Linked DNA regions of Homo sapiens: region 2 is linked to region 1. The links are contacts of gene promoters, found by promoter capture Hi-C in blood cells and fetal thymus (Javierre and others, 2016). All regions are on one chromosome and are shown on one strand. The core of a region is centred on a gene start or on the middle of the fragment in contact, and the rest is flanking DNA. Distances in the headings are between cores, read along the strand shown. Region 1 holds the start of SNX13 (sorting nexin 13). Region 2 has its middle 170 kb from the start of SNX13.

What was found. Contacts are between HindIII fragments. The CHiCAGO score rates a contact against its expected background, and 5 or more counts as called.
Region 2: a fragment that was not itself captured here is called in contact with the fragment with the promoter of SNX13 in region 1 in 2 of 17 cell types (megakaryocytes and M1 macrophages); the score reaches 5.9 in megakaryocytes.

What each region holds. Positions count from the first base shown.
Region 1 is chr7:17,935,833-17,943,471 of GRCh38, forward strand. It overlaps SNX13 (sorting nexin 13), which reads right to left and starts at 4,662. Exons shown (of 26, transcript NM_015132.5): 1 at 4,452-4,662. The coding sequence starts at 4,463. The HindIII fragment of the contact is 12,825 bases long and covers 1-7,639 here.
Region 2 is chr7:17,767,206-17,774,844 of GRCh38, forward strand. No RefSeq gene overlaps it. Among named protein-coding and RNA genes, the nearest start is that of SNX13, 170 kb to the right of the region's middle. The HindIII fragment of the contact is 195 bases long and covers 3,078-3,272 here.

The sequences.
Region 1 (7,639 bases), core at 3,412-5,911:
TGCAGTGTCATTAATAATTGAAGAAATAGCTTATATAGCTTAAAGATTAATGTGCCCCAAGAGTATTTCTATTACAAATATATTAATCAACAAAACCAAGTCATAATATTTTACTAAGCACTTATGGGCAAGACAACTGTGTGTGAGCGTGGATGTATGATGTATGTGCATGTGTGTGTTCAAAAGGACCCCTGGATGTTCAGGGAGCCTTTCTTGATACGTAACTCATCACTCCAGGATTTCCCTAAGTGAAATACAAGAAAGTGTATTCACCTCCATGGTTAAATGACTCTGCAATATGCTGTAAATTCTATCATCTTCTTTGAAAATAAATCACCTATCAAAAACTAACTATGTTAAGTCATCCAGAGAAGAAACCTATTAACTTTCTTTAGGCAAATATCCTCCAAATTTATTTCAACTACAAAACCTTTTACTTAACAACTATTAACCTGGAACTTCTCAAAGTGCTGCATTTTTTGCCTTTTCCCATTTATATCAGATCTGTTAACTCTGAGAATCAGTGTTAATATTGAAAAAGCAACAAATCTGGATGGAAGTAACAACACAAATAGAAACTATTTTTATTTAATAGTCACTTAATGATTCATATTTACAGACAACTCAAACAACTAATAGCTTTAAATAGCTACACTGTTTATTATTTTTTAAAACACAGGACAAGTGACAACACGTTGATAACTGGTTTCCATGCAAAAACAACCTCCAAAGTATGCCACAACACTGGAATGTATTCAGCACATTTTCCCACATTTCTTACCTTTAGTTTTCTGTAATAATAAATGCTCAGAATTATAATCCTAATTGCTCCTGGTATCAAGAAAAGTTTAAAAGTGTGTTTGATAAAAATTCACTGATAAATATTTCATTATCTTCTAATGTTGTGAAAACTCGGATTAATTAAAACAAATTCTCAGGTAAACAAACATCCCATGCTCTAATTTCGATATATGAAGTTTACTGTTAGGGGAAAAGAAAAAAAAAAAGAAAAAAAAAGAAGGGATAGAGGGAGAGTGAGGAGTGAATATTAAACAAGTAACTTTCATGTACACTATGACAAATTTTTTGCCAAGTATAGCAGGAGTCACATTAGAAGCAGGAAGTCCTAACAGGAGCAAGGACAACAGAAGGGGAAAAAAACTAACATTAAAAAAAATAAAATAAAATAAAAAAAAAAAAACTAGCTAGACGTTACATACAGCTCATCCCTGTATGTAAAATGCAAAAAAAAAAAAAATACATACATAAATATGACTAGCAAGTTTTCTAAATAATTCCATTGTATTTAAGATAAAATAATATAAATTGAAGCCAAAAAGTTTACATCGAGAACTATATGGGAGCTATACTTTCAATTTACATTAATCTATATTTCATAGGCTCAAAGTTCAATGTACATATTAGTTTGCTCAACTGAGTGATATTCCATTTTAGCTTAATATAAAATGGTCCTTAATTGATCACTTGTGTGGCTTCTCATTTCTGAAAAGGTTTCAATTAGAGATATATTTTTGGCCCGGTGCAGTGGCTCACGCCTGTAATCCCAGCTGCTTGGGAGGCTGAAGCACGAGAATAGTTTGAACCTGGAAGGCGGAGGTTGCAGTGAGCCAAGATCGCGCCACTGCACTCCAGCCTGGGCAACAGGGCAAGACTCCGTCTCAAAAAAAAAAAAAAAAAAAAAGATATATTTTCACAAAACGCAAAACTGAAAAGTTTCATATGAACACTTATCATTACTATTCTCATTATGTATCTATGTACTTAGTATCCTCACCTTGGTTAAAAAAAAATAAAAATAGTATGCTGATTTTATCAGCTACAAAGAAAATTAATGATGCATTCCACACTGAGTCATAAAAAGCACACAATGTGGAATAAGAGGACCTAAATATGATTTCTGTCTCCTCCATTCTTTATACAACTCTAAGTAAGCTCTTTCAACTTTCTCAACCTGTTTTATCATTGGTTAATGGGGATATCACCTACCTCAGTGTTGAGATGTAAAGAATCCAGGCACATACTACAATTCACCACTTTCTGAGCACAGTAAATGCTTGCTGAGCATGACTAATATAAAGACAGGAGAATCTTTCATAGCACAGCTCATCACTACACATTTTGAGACCTAACATGAATTAAATCACATCTCCTAAAAGCTGCTGATCTAAGTCAGCAATGTCTAGCAGAAGCAATAAAAAGGAAGTCTCACACTAATTTTGTAGTAGCCAATATTGAGTGAAATTTTATATCTAAAATATCTCAAAATAGGACTAGTTTACGAGGCTTAGAAGCCTTGTTTAAAAAATGAAAAGGAAAAAAAGCTAAGGTAAAGCAGAAAGTCTTTTTTAAGTAATAATCATTTTCAGTTTACTGACAATATTCAGACAAGGAAGTACAATAGCATGTTTTAAAATCTATCAAGAGAGCTGAAAACTACTTGAGAGGCAGCTGAGCAAAACGGTCAGAGCTCTCTACTGAGAGTTAGGAGATGAGATTCCAGTTTCGACTGTCACTAATATTTAATAATTGACCTTGGACAAGAGTCTCTGGCTTCAGTTTCCTAATCTATAAACGACTACTGAAAACTATAGGGAAGACTTTAGTACAATTTAATCTGGGTCTTACTTTGGCGAGGCAATCTAGAAAAGTTAACAGAATGGGCTAGGTGGCAACTGCCAAGGTTGGAATCCTGCTTCTGCCACTTATAAGTTGTGCAGTGTTCACACAAAAAGTACTAAAGTACAGTTTACTTAATATTATCATTGATTTACTGTTTAAAATATTTCCCTAAAACGCAAAATTGCATTAAAATACAGAAGCTGAGAAAGCTCCATCTTTCCAAATCATTTTACTGGCAGACACACAAGTAGTTCATTTGAAAGTATTAAAACTCTGAAACATGTTAACATAAGCTAAGTTTAAGGAAAAGATCATATCATATAATATTACACATTAGAGACAACACTAAACACTTATTATAAGGCTAACTGTTCCCACTAAAATATCACACTTAAGGTAAAAATGAAACTTCTGCTACTTATAACTCTTTTTTCTAATCTATTACTGCTAATCACAACACAAACTTATGCTATAACCATAATCTCAATTAACTCCAAGAATGAAAAATCTGTAGAATTTAGAAATATAAAATGAACTTCAAACAACTAAAAATACGTACTGTAGAAGTTACAATCAACCAGTAAGTATTTATCATATGCCAGGCTCTGTGCTTAGATTAAGTACAAACAGCAAAGTATAAAGTTCCTCAAAGTTAGTCACGTTCCAAGGACCTGAAATTTCAGGCAAGTACGTGCTTTACCATCACTTTTCACAAAATAAAAGCCACTCACCTACAAATGTTTGTATTTCCTTTTTGGCCCATGTAGGAATACTTCCCATTGCCCACTAAAACTGTTTCCTATTCAGTTCAGCCCATAAAAATGCCCAATCCGGTCAGTTCCTCACGTCAGGATCCTCACAGTACTTAAAGTGAAAGGCTTCGAAAAAGGTATTTCATCAAATCACAAGGTTCAGTATTTTATGTTCAGTGACACCTACACCTGCAGATACTACAACACATAACTGGGCTAACCTGGGTCAAGTACCTAGTTGCACCGATTTAGTTCTTCCCCTTAAAGTGTTGCTAGTAAAGGCAAACTCTACTTCTTCAAAAAGTCGGCTTTTTGCAATGCCCATTAGGCACTAGAAAAGGGAAATTGATTGGTTCGTCATAGTTGCCCTACTTCCATTTCAGGTCCAAAGAAAAAAACTATTCCATAGGGAGTAACAAGGGGGCCACACGCAAATCAAGGTGGCAGATGCTAAACTGAACTTTGTGATGACCACGATTTAACCGAAAAGGTGATGGATGTGGGGGAGGGGGATGACCCAACTGAGCCATACATGTGCAGCTTGAGATAAAAAAGTCCACTTCATGAAGCAGTCAAAGTAGAGGGTGGGAAACAAACCGGTCGGGCCGAGCAACAACCCCAGGGTGCTGACCGAGCTCGGAGGCGGAGGGCCCTGGAGCCCAGGGACCAGAGAAAGGAGACCTAGGGCAAACCATAGGATCACAAGAACCAGCAGTAACGTGGAAAGGCCAACGCTGCCACAGAGTAGCGTGTAAGGGGACACGAAGAAGGGAGCGATGAGTTAGAAGGGAGTGACAGCAGGAGGGAGACCAGTGCCAGGGGCGAGTGGCAAGTGGCAACTGCGAAAGGCGAGGCACTGGCAGCCGGAGGTGGTGGGACTCTGTTGAGTCAGCACAGCTCCTACTCTGAGGGCACTTGTAGGATCCCCGCTGCTCCTCGGGCCCTGGAGCCCACGGCGAAGGGTCAGGCCCACCTTCCGTACAGATGATGTTCTCTGACGGGCTGGCGCCGGCCCCTTCCCCATTTCACAGGTAAACACTGGCCACCGTCGCCGCTTACCTCAGTTAACATTATTACACCCCGGGGAAGTGAGGTCCTCCCTAGCCTCGCCTCATGGCAACAGCCGTAGCAGCAGCGAAAACTGCTCGGGCCGCCGCCAACGGCGGCAACTGCTCCTTCAGTCTTCTCCCGGGCGGCGGTTTTACTCGGCTTCGCTGGCCTCCCCTCGGCCCGGTCGCTCGCGACGGACGCGCCGCCATCTTGGAAGAGCGACGTCCGCGTCTCGCTGCAACGTGCGTTCCCATTGGCGGGCGCAGGGGCTGCTGGCGTCTCGTGACCGTCTCCATAGCGCCGGCGCGCGGAGAAGCGGAGGTAGGCTGTCGGCAGTCGGCTTGGCGCTGACTTGTAGGACCCCGGGACCGGGCGCCTGGGCCAACTTGGGACCGCTGGGAGTGCAGAGGGGCCCCAGCGCCCGAGCCTTCCGGGAATGGACGTGCGCGCCCTTGGGGCCGGCGCATCATCCACCGCCCACTAGCGTTGGCCCGCCCTGGGGAGAGGAGAAAATGCCAGAGGCCGACACTTGACTGATGGCGCTGCGGACCTCGCTGGTCTTGGGGACAAGGCGGCAGATTTCCTTTAGAAAAACTTCCCTCTCGCGTCTCCCTGGCCCCGCGGCGACCGAAGAGTTGGGGTTCGGCTTTCTTCTCCTGGGATTTAAGTGTTATTTGAAACAGCTCCCTGCGCGGCCCTTTTCTCCTAAACTTTGACAGAAACTTCCCTTTGTCCCTACCAATCCTCAGTGAGTTCTTTACAGGGGTCCGAGACAGGTTGTAGATATGATGCGGCTTATCGGCTTTACCCCGATCCTAGCGGAGTTAGGACTTGCTGATGTAATTGGCCAGCACCTGCCTAACAATGAAGGTTTAGTTATGCTACAAGTAATGCACCTCTAAAAAAACGTAAAACAGGCTTTACGTTTTACCTGCTATCTCCACAGGTTTACTAGCTGCTTAATACAATATGCTTGTATATCAAGGTGAGCAAATTTCAGCAAATGTCATTGTAAATAGTCCCAACTTAAATGGAATTGAACTCTGGAACTCAATGTGCATAGAAGTCCCTGAGACTGACGCCATTCTAGATCTACCACTAGATGGTTTGCGATGTACGGAATTAAAGGCAGTCACTTCTACCTGAATTGTGATGAAAGTAGTTTACCTGAACATGCTGGGAAAGTGTGCTACCCTGTTTTGTATTAGAAACCAGTTTCCAAGTAAATTGAAAAGCAAATTTTCAGACTTGACATTAAAAACACCTCCATGTCATTCTTACAAGAGGTACAAAAGCATTTTAGAAAACTAAAGCCAGGAGTTTCTTCCCTTTTACCAGAATCTTTTCCCTCCATTTAACAATAGTACTGTTGTGCTAAATGAAATTTACTTAATGTATTACTCTTACAGTCTCAAAACAATAAGGGCATTGCAAACCTTGTATTATCTCTATCGTGTCAAGGAAACAAAACGGTTCATTTAAGCAGTCATGCAAAAAATTCAAGAAAAACTGATTTTGCTCAATTCAACTAATTGAAGCAAAGTAGTTTTTCTTGTTGTTTTAATCTGCATTTTGTACATCATTTCCACATTGCTGGACCAGCAAAATTCTGACCTCTGCAATACAATAAAATGTGTTACTGGTATTGACAGATGAAGCCACAAATAGAAAATGAGCATGGAAATCCTACCTGGACTGAGGTATCAAAGGATACCAAGAGATACTAGAGACAACAAGGAACCTGGAAAAAGATAGTGTTCCAACCTGTAAATAAGAAAACAGAGAAGGAGGTTCATTAATATTTAAGATACCAGCTAGTAAATTAAAACAGCAATGTAGTTGTCTGGCTTGAGTATTCAGTTTTATTTACTACATCTTTTTATCTTTTCTAGAAGCAAGGCATTAAGTGTTGACACTTGAGTATTGAACCAATCTGTGATATGACATGAATATGCCTTTAACTTTCAGAAGTTTGTCTACAGACTTACAAGGAAACCAAAAGTAGTCGCTCTTCCAATGGCTTCCTAATTTTCTCAGCCTGAGTCTTTTCTGCAACCTAAAAATCCTATGCTAGCTGGCCTCCCAAGTCCTACCTCACCTCCACCCCTCTGACCTCATTTCTGCTAAGCACTTTGTTCCAGTTACACAGACCTGCTCCCTGCTTCTGTAACACCAAGGCATCTTCTTGCCCTGAGGCCCTTACACTGTGTATAGTTTCTATCTGCAAAGATCTTTCCACCAAATACCTGCATGGCTAGATCTTCCACTTCTGTCCAATCTTTGCTTAAAAGTCATCTTTTTTCAAAGAAGCCTACCCTAATCATCTCATTTAAAATATTGCCCCTTCCCCAGAATCCTCCCTTCCTTGCTTCTGTTTTTTTCATAGTACTTACCTTCTAACCTTCTAACATCGTCATTTTCTATTTTTATTTTCTATTGCCTTCCCTCCGCTAGAATGTAAGCTCCACAAGATCGGGGATTTTTTTTTTTTCATTTTGTTCAATGTTTCCTTAGTACCTAAAATACTAGAATAGTAGATGGCACAGAGTAGATGCTCAATAAATATTTCTTAAGTGAATAAATGAATGGGTGAATCATTGCCTAAAAGACACTAAAAGGAAAAGACCTAATTAAAACTATTTAAAAACAAAATCCTTGGTGTTGAAAGATTAAATTATTTAAAAGTTGGCCATTGTGTGTTCTCTTGTCTTCCAATTAATAGGAACATCACTTCTGCCACTGGAATGTTGAAGTGTATGACAATTGTTACTTCCACTAGAATGCTACAGAAAAGTTTAGGACAAAATTGTGAGCTATGCCTTTTCCTTCACCTTTTTTCTTTTCCTTTTTTTAAATTTGTTGTAGAGATGTGTTCTCACTATGTTGCCAGACTAGTCTCTGGACTCCTGGCCTCAAAGATCCTCAGGCTTTGACCTCCCAAAGTGCTGGGATTGCAGGAATGAGCCACCACACCTGGCCTCCTTCACTTTCTTAAATACATCTTGGGCATGAGTCAAAGTTAATTTCCTAGGAAGGGAAGCAACAAAGCGAATAAGGTATACTATTTAAGAGACTTACGGAAATTAAGGAGTTATATAGTTGGAAAAGAGAATGCTTATAGAAACAGCTAGCTTAAAAAAAAAAAGCACCTAATTTGATACAGATTCCATGTCTTAAAAACATCCTATTCATATCAG
Region 2 (7,639 bases), core at 1,925-4,424, 170 kb before region 1:
TTGCAGTGACCTAGATGAGATTGGAGACTATTATTATTATTATTATTATTTTTTTTTTTTTTTTGAGACAGAGTTTCACTCTTGTTTCCCAGACTGGAGTGCAATGGTGTGGTCTTGGCTCACCACAACCTCTGCCTCCCGGATTCAAGTGATTCTCCTGCCTCAGCCTCCCAAGTAGCTGGGATTACAGATGCCCACCACCACACCTGGCTGATTTTTGTATTTTTAGTAGAAGTGGGGTTTCACCATGTTGACCAGGCTGGTCTAGAACTCCTGACCTCAGGTGATCCGCCCACTTTGGCCTCCCAAAGTGCTGGGATTACAGGCGTGAGCCACCACGCCTGGCCTTGGAGATTATTATTCTAAGTGATGTAACTCAGGAATGGAAACCAAACATCGTATGTTCTCACTGATATGTGGGAGCTAAGCTATGAGGATGCAGAGGCATAAGAGTGATACAATGGACTTTGGGGACTTGGGGGGAAGGGTGGGAGGGGGGCGAGGGATAAAAGATTATAAATATGGTGCAGTGTATACTTCTTGGGTGATGGGTGCACCAAAATCTCACAAATCACCATTAAAGAACTTACTCATGTAACCAAATACTACCTGTACCCCAGTAACTTATGGAAAAATAAAATTTAAAATAAAATTTAAAAATTATAATAAAAGTTTGACATATTAAAAAGAATTACCAAAAGGTGAATCAGAGACACAAAGCAGGTATATTTCATTGGAGGATGCCAATGATTAAGACTTGCTTGACACAGGATTGCCAGAAACTTTCAGTTTGTGAAGAAGTACAATAAAATGAGGTATGTCTGTATATTCATAAAATTATGCAACCATCCCCACTATTTAATTCTAGAATGTTTTCATCACCCCAGAAAGGAACTACATATCCATTAGCAGTCACTCCCCAGCTCTCTTCCTTCCCGCAGCCCCTGGTAAACACTAATCTACTTTGTGTTTCCATGGAATTTCCCTGTTGGGTCATTTCATATAAATGAAATTATACATTATGTGGCCTTTTGTGACTAGTTTCTTTCACTTAGCATAGTATTTTCAAGTTCTATCCATATTGTAGACTGTATTAAAACTTTTTCCTTGTTACAACCAAATAAAATTCCATTGTATAAATACATTTTATTTATACATTCATTGATGGATATTTGTGTTGCCTCCATCTTCGGGTTGTTATTAATAGTGCTGCTATAAACATTCGTGTACAAGAATTTGTGTGGATATATGTTTTCATTTCCCTTGCGTATAAATCTGGGCATGACTGCTGGGTATTATGGTAGCTCGATGCTAAACATTTTGAAGAGCTGCCACACTGTTTTTTAAAGGGGCTGCACCATTTTACATTCCCATCAGTTTTGTATTTCTCCATGTCTTTATCTTTTTTATTAATGTCATTCTAGTGAATATGAGGTACTAACTCATTGTGGCTTTGGTTTTTATTTCCCTAATGACTAATGATGTTGAACTTCTTTTTCACACGCTATTTGTAAATCTTATTTGGAGGAATGTTTATTCAGATCCTTTGTCCATCTTTTAATTAAATAGTTTGCCTTTTTATTATTAGGTTGTAAGAGTTCTTTATACAGTCTTTATATATATATATATTTAGAAATTCTGGTTACAAGTCTCTTAACGGATATATAATCTACAAATATTTTCTCCCTGTGGGTTGTTTTTTCACTTTCTAGATAGTGCTCTTTGAAACACAAAATTTTTAATTTTAATTTTGATAAAGTCTAATGTATCTATTTTTTTCTTTGGTTCTTTGTGTTTTTGGTGTCACATGTAAGAAGCTATTGCTTAATCAAAATTTATTAATATTTACTCCTATGTTTTACAGCAGGGGCCCCCAATCCCTGGGCCATCAACGGTACTGGTCTGTGGCCTGTTAGGAACCAGGCTGTGCAGCAGGAGGTGAGCAGTGGGTGAGCAAGCATTATCACCTGAACTCCACTTTCTGTTTGTTTGTTTGTTTGTTTTGTTTTTTGAAACAAAGTCTCACTGTGTTGCCCAGGCTGGACTGCAGTGGTGCGATCTTGGCTCACTGCAACCTCTGCCTCCCAGGTTCAAGTGATTCTCATGCCTCAGGCTGCCAAGTAGCTGGGATTACAGGCGCACGCCACCACACCGGGCTAATTTTCATATTTTTAGTAGAGACAGGGTTTCGCCATGTTGGTCAGGCTGGTCTCAAAGTCCTGGCCTCAGGTGATCCGCCCACCTCGGCCTCCCAAAGTGCTGGGATTACAGGTGTGAGCCACCGCACCTGGCCTCGCATTCTGTAAGATTAGCAGTGGCATTAGATTCTCATAGGAGCATGAATCCTGTTGTGAACTGTGCATGTGAGGGATCTAGGTTGTGCTCCTTATGAGAGTCTGACTAATGCCCAATGATCAGAGGTGGAACACTTTCATCTCAAAACCATCCCACTCGCAGCCATTTGTGGAAAAGTTGTCTTCCACGTAAACAGTCACTGGTGCCAAAAAGGTTGGGGACCACTGTCCTATGAGATTTTGGTGAAGATTAACTGGGATAATGTATGTAAATTCTGGGCATGTAACTATCAGTGGGAAGTAATATCTTATATTGTCATTCAGACAATTCCTCCAGGCTTCCACCTCCACCCTCATCTAATTTCTCTGGTTTCCACCTCTACCATACCCTCTGGATTTGCCCCTTGGTTGGACTGGCTCTGGCTTTGATTTCAGACTCTTCCTAAAACACTGCTTCTGCATACCTCATGACCTTTAGTTTCAAGCAAGTGATGTTGACAGTTGCTCAGCTCAGGTTCTGGACTGTCCAGGAGGGGGCATCAGACAACAAGAAGAGAAGTCCCTAGAAAAGACAGCTTTAATCAAATAATACTGCCATTCATTGAAAACCTGCTGCGTGGCTTCCTCTTTATGGGCATTATCTCTATTCTCTAGAATAACTGTGGGAATAGAGTACAGTATTACCACCATGATATAAAAGAGGAAACTGATTTTCTAAGTTTAATAACTTTCCCAACATTTCCCAGTTTAGTAATTGATGGGCTGGGATTTGACTGACTATAAAGCTTGTACTATTTCTTTTATACCACCAATCTCGATCTCACAGGGCTACAAAAAATCTTGAAGCAAGCATTAGAACTTCCCTCTATCTTTAGTAGCTCTAAATGACGTAAAAATGTGTTTAGAGAGCATTAAAATGTGTTTAACAAAATGTGTTAAGAGAATATGTCCTGGACTTAGGGGACAAACTAGAAATCAAGCTTCCAGACCTCAGGACCTACAGTATAAATTAGAATGCAAAACACTAACAAGCAACATACCCAGAAGGTAGTTATGAAGTAATAATGACTTGATAAAGTTAACATCATACATTCTGATACTTCATTGAAATTTTCTTCCCTGGGCTGGTCTATGATGTTTTTAAATATCTAAACTATGGCTTAACGTCCATGAAGCTTGAACCTGATCAATTTCTCTAAGGCACTATAGTTACAGTTTGAGTATCGTTCACCCAGGGGATAGTATTATTTTCTCAAAATGTCTTCTGGGTCTATCTGCAGCAGAATCTCCTGCTATACTTAATAAAATTCACGTTTCAAAGCCACTCCTTTCATTTACTGATGTCTACGCTGGTGACTGACATGCTGCATTTTTAAGCAGCTGTTCATTAAACAGCAAGAAACAGTTATTGCCTCACCATTGGACTTCCCTTTTTGCCATTAAGAGACAGCATCTGCCCTTTAAGTTCTGCCTCTCTTACCATGAGTCCTAAACATTATAAAAGCAGAAGTTTATAAAGTTAGTCCAATTTCTACCATTTGGCACATAGTGGTAATAACAGCTAACACTTTCAGAGGACTTACTGTGCTCCAGGTACTAGTCTAAGTCCTTTACCTACATATTAGCACCCTGAATCCTCACAACTGTCTCCTGTTGTTGATTCTATTAACTTCAAATCTCTTATACAAATGAGGAAACAGACAGGTTAAGACTTGCCCAAGGTTAAGTAGCTTGAAATTGACAGAGCCAAAACTCGAACCCACAGGCAACCAGATTTCAGAGTCTAAGCTTTTGAACATTATAATTCTTCTTTTTGAAAAATGATTTAATGGCAGAAGATTTGGAAAAACAAACTCATATATTCATCACTAGGGGAATGGTTAAAGAAATTATGATTCCCCCAATGAAACGCAGCTGTGAAAAACTAAGAAGCTTTCACTGAGCTGAAAGGCAAGGGTCAGAATGTGTATAATATGCTGACTTTATGTTTAAAATAAATCTTTTTTCAAATTGAATTTTGGATCTGTATGTATTAGGAATTTAGTCTTTGTTACATGAGTTAAAAAATTTTCCCAATTTTTCATTTAACTTTTTAGGTACTTATGGTATAATTTACTATGCAAAAGTTATCTTTAATTTTATGTACTTGCGTTATTTATTTCATGGTTTTTGGATTTTGAGTCATCATTAGACCTTCTCCACTTCAAGGATAAAAAGTAATTATCCTAATACTTTCTTCTGGTGCTTTCAGGATTTCTTTCTAAATGTGTGATTTTTAATGTATTTTAAGTTTACTGTGATACACAGGTAAGGTATGAACAAGCTCATTATTTGTCGCAACATCCATTATTAAATTGCCCTCTTTGCCCCACTAATTTCAGATGTCCTTCTATCATGAAGTGAATTTTCTTATGTATTTTGAATTATTTCTGGGCTTATTTTGTCCCTTTGGGTACTAAGTTTTTAGTTTATGAGGCAGCCAGATCCATTTATTTTTGCACTCAAGTATTATTTTAGTCCTGGAGATAAATTTATGGTCTGTTTAATGTACCATGTTATTGCTGACATCCCTTATCGTCCTGGGGAAGTTACAGAAATAATGAACAGTAGTTTTACAGTGATGGCTTCAGCAGAAAACAGATCTAGAGAAGCACTGTCCCTGAGGATAGCGCACTGAGCCCCACACCTGCTGAGATTTTCAAATTCGTATCATTCTGTCTGCTCAACTCTGCAACTACCTTTCATCTTCCTTTGGAAAGCAGCAGGACTGAGGATTAAGGTTAAATTCCCATTGTCTGTGGTCCAAAGAGAAAGCATACTACCACTGTCTGTTCATATTATTGCCATTGTGTTAAAGTGCAGAACCAAAAGCAAACTTTCTAATTTTTCATACTCCTAGCTTGGTGTGTGTGCCTGCTGTTGGCACCCAGGATCTGCCTATATTCCCTAGAAAGCATATCAAAACAGCAGCTTGACTCTCCTGAGAATGGAGAGGTGGACTGGCACAAATTCAATGGAGTATGGCGAGAATGTCACAGGAGCTACTCCAACCAAAATTCCTTTTCATATTGCAAAGCTCCTACATGGGCCACTCTGAGCCAATGTCCCTCTAAGTCCCCTTGAAAGCACTGTTTGAATAGGATAAACTTCCTGACAGTGTTTGAACTTTGCAGACTCCCTATCAGACTCACAGTCTCAAGTTAGCAGCTCACAGTGGATAAGGCGGTGTGAGCGCTAGACCTCAAGGCCTGAATATGATTTGGCCAGTGCTCTTGGCTCAATCCCTGCTCCATGTTAAGCTGCAATAACCACAGCTGGAAAGTGTGTTTGTGCCCTCTAGGTCTGAACAGCTGGAAGAAGGGGGGCCCCCCCCGACACAAATTAAATTAGGAGGTGTAAAATGCTGTGGGAAGAAAAACAAACCAAGATGACAAAAGCAGGTGCCAAAAGGCGTTTGTTCACAACCCCCATCACAGTTTCATTTTTATGTGTATGATTAGCAGCTCAGCTGCCTTAGGGCACATTTCATACTTCTTTGATCTTTTAATGTCTTGAAAAGAAAAAGAAACAGCACCTGCTGATGAAAGATATTCCAAGAGAATAGCAGGCTCTGTTCTCCAACAATCTCAAAAGCTTAACTATCCTACTCTGTGGACAGTTTTAAAGACTGTGTATTTTAGAAACCAATCTCTTCAAGAACTAGCTGAACAGTATAAAACAACTGTCCTTTTATTGTTATTTTCCAATTTATTGCCAGAGGATTATCTGTTAATGAGCCTTAGCTTATTAGAAAGACTTAAGGAAGCTAGAAACTTTCACCACAATAGCACTGATTGGTTTGTCATAGTCTGAAGTAACTCTCTTGTACTAGATGATTCATAAATTCTAAATAGGAGACCAAAGGGGCAGCAGTTCTAAAGAGAGCAGCCACACAACCCCATTGCACAATAAGCTTTGTCAGCACAGCCTGTAGATAAACACTGGGTTGCAATATAGCCACGAATGACCGGTTCTCTCCCTTGTTCATCCATCCTGGGAGACCTACAGGTGCCTTAAATTCTCCCTAAATTGTTCCAGAAGACATCGCCTGTGTCCCTTAGCCCGGTCTTCTTGACTACTCTTTAGGTTTCAGCCTTTTTTTTTTTTTTTTTTTTTTTAACTCTCATCTGCTCAGTTTTGTGCTGATTAATGCCTGTAAAGGTACCACCATGGCTGCTAAGGCCCTCACTCTCACATTTCTGTGCCCAGATTGTAAAGCCCTAAGTTCCATGCCAAGCTCCTGACACCTTGTGCTCTCAATGTCCTAGATTTATTCATTTTCGATCTTATCTTTCATTATACTCTTTACTTTCAGACTCATAGCAGAAACAGGACTTGAGGACCATCTAAATGAGTGATAGACATCCCACCCCTTCCTTCCTGACCTACCATTCTTTAACCCTCTTCCAATACAGTGCATTCCATCCCAAGTTTCTCAGTCCCTCATGCCAGTGGTACCTGGCCAGCCTGTGGCATCAGTCCTCTAGATTTGCCTTAGTCTTGGGACAAACTTACGTAGGTCTTCCTTCTAGTAAAACATTGAGATAAAACAACTTTGCAACTGTTATTTCTTCTTGAAATTAGCATTCTGAACGTATCATCCTTAAAGGTATGAATCAATAGTTTCATCTCTGATAAATATTAGAAGTCATCTGAATTTCTTTCCAAGTCATTGGAGGGGAGCAAGAATTAATAAGACAAAGAAAATGAATTCATGCTTGTCACTTTATAGAAACAGACCCACTAATTGATACGAATCAATAATGCCTTGCATGTCCTATGTCCAGTTTTCAAGGAGTCATCCACTTAATAGTGTTATGTACTCAGAGCTCCCACATTCATCAATCAGTCAACCACATATGCTCACATCTCATGAGCCACTGCTTTTGCTGTCCTAACCACTTGCTCCCATTGTGACTCACAGTCCAGTCTCTCTGCTTGCAAACTTGGCTTTCCACCCAGTGGCTCTCTTCTCTCACTATTTGGAGGCAGAACTACAGAGTGATTAAGAGCAACTTGGAATTCTGGTGCCAAGTGTCAACGGTGTGGCTGTGCACAGATGATGTACCCTGCCCCTGTAACTGAGTCTCTCCAGCTATAGAATGGAGGCAATAATAATAATACTTAAATCTTTGGGGGTTTTCAAAGGATTTAAAGCACTTCAAATGTCAAGCACTAATTGTTAGCTAGGATTGCTATTATTCAGGGAAAGGCATGTCACCCATCAATAAAGAATAGCCTCAAGAATCAAACTCTGAAGGGCCACTCTGAAGTGGAGAGTTAGAAGACAGAATGTAAAAGTGCCT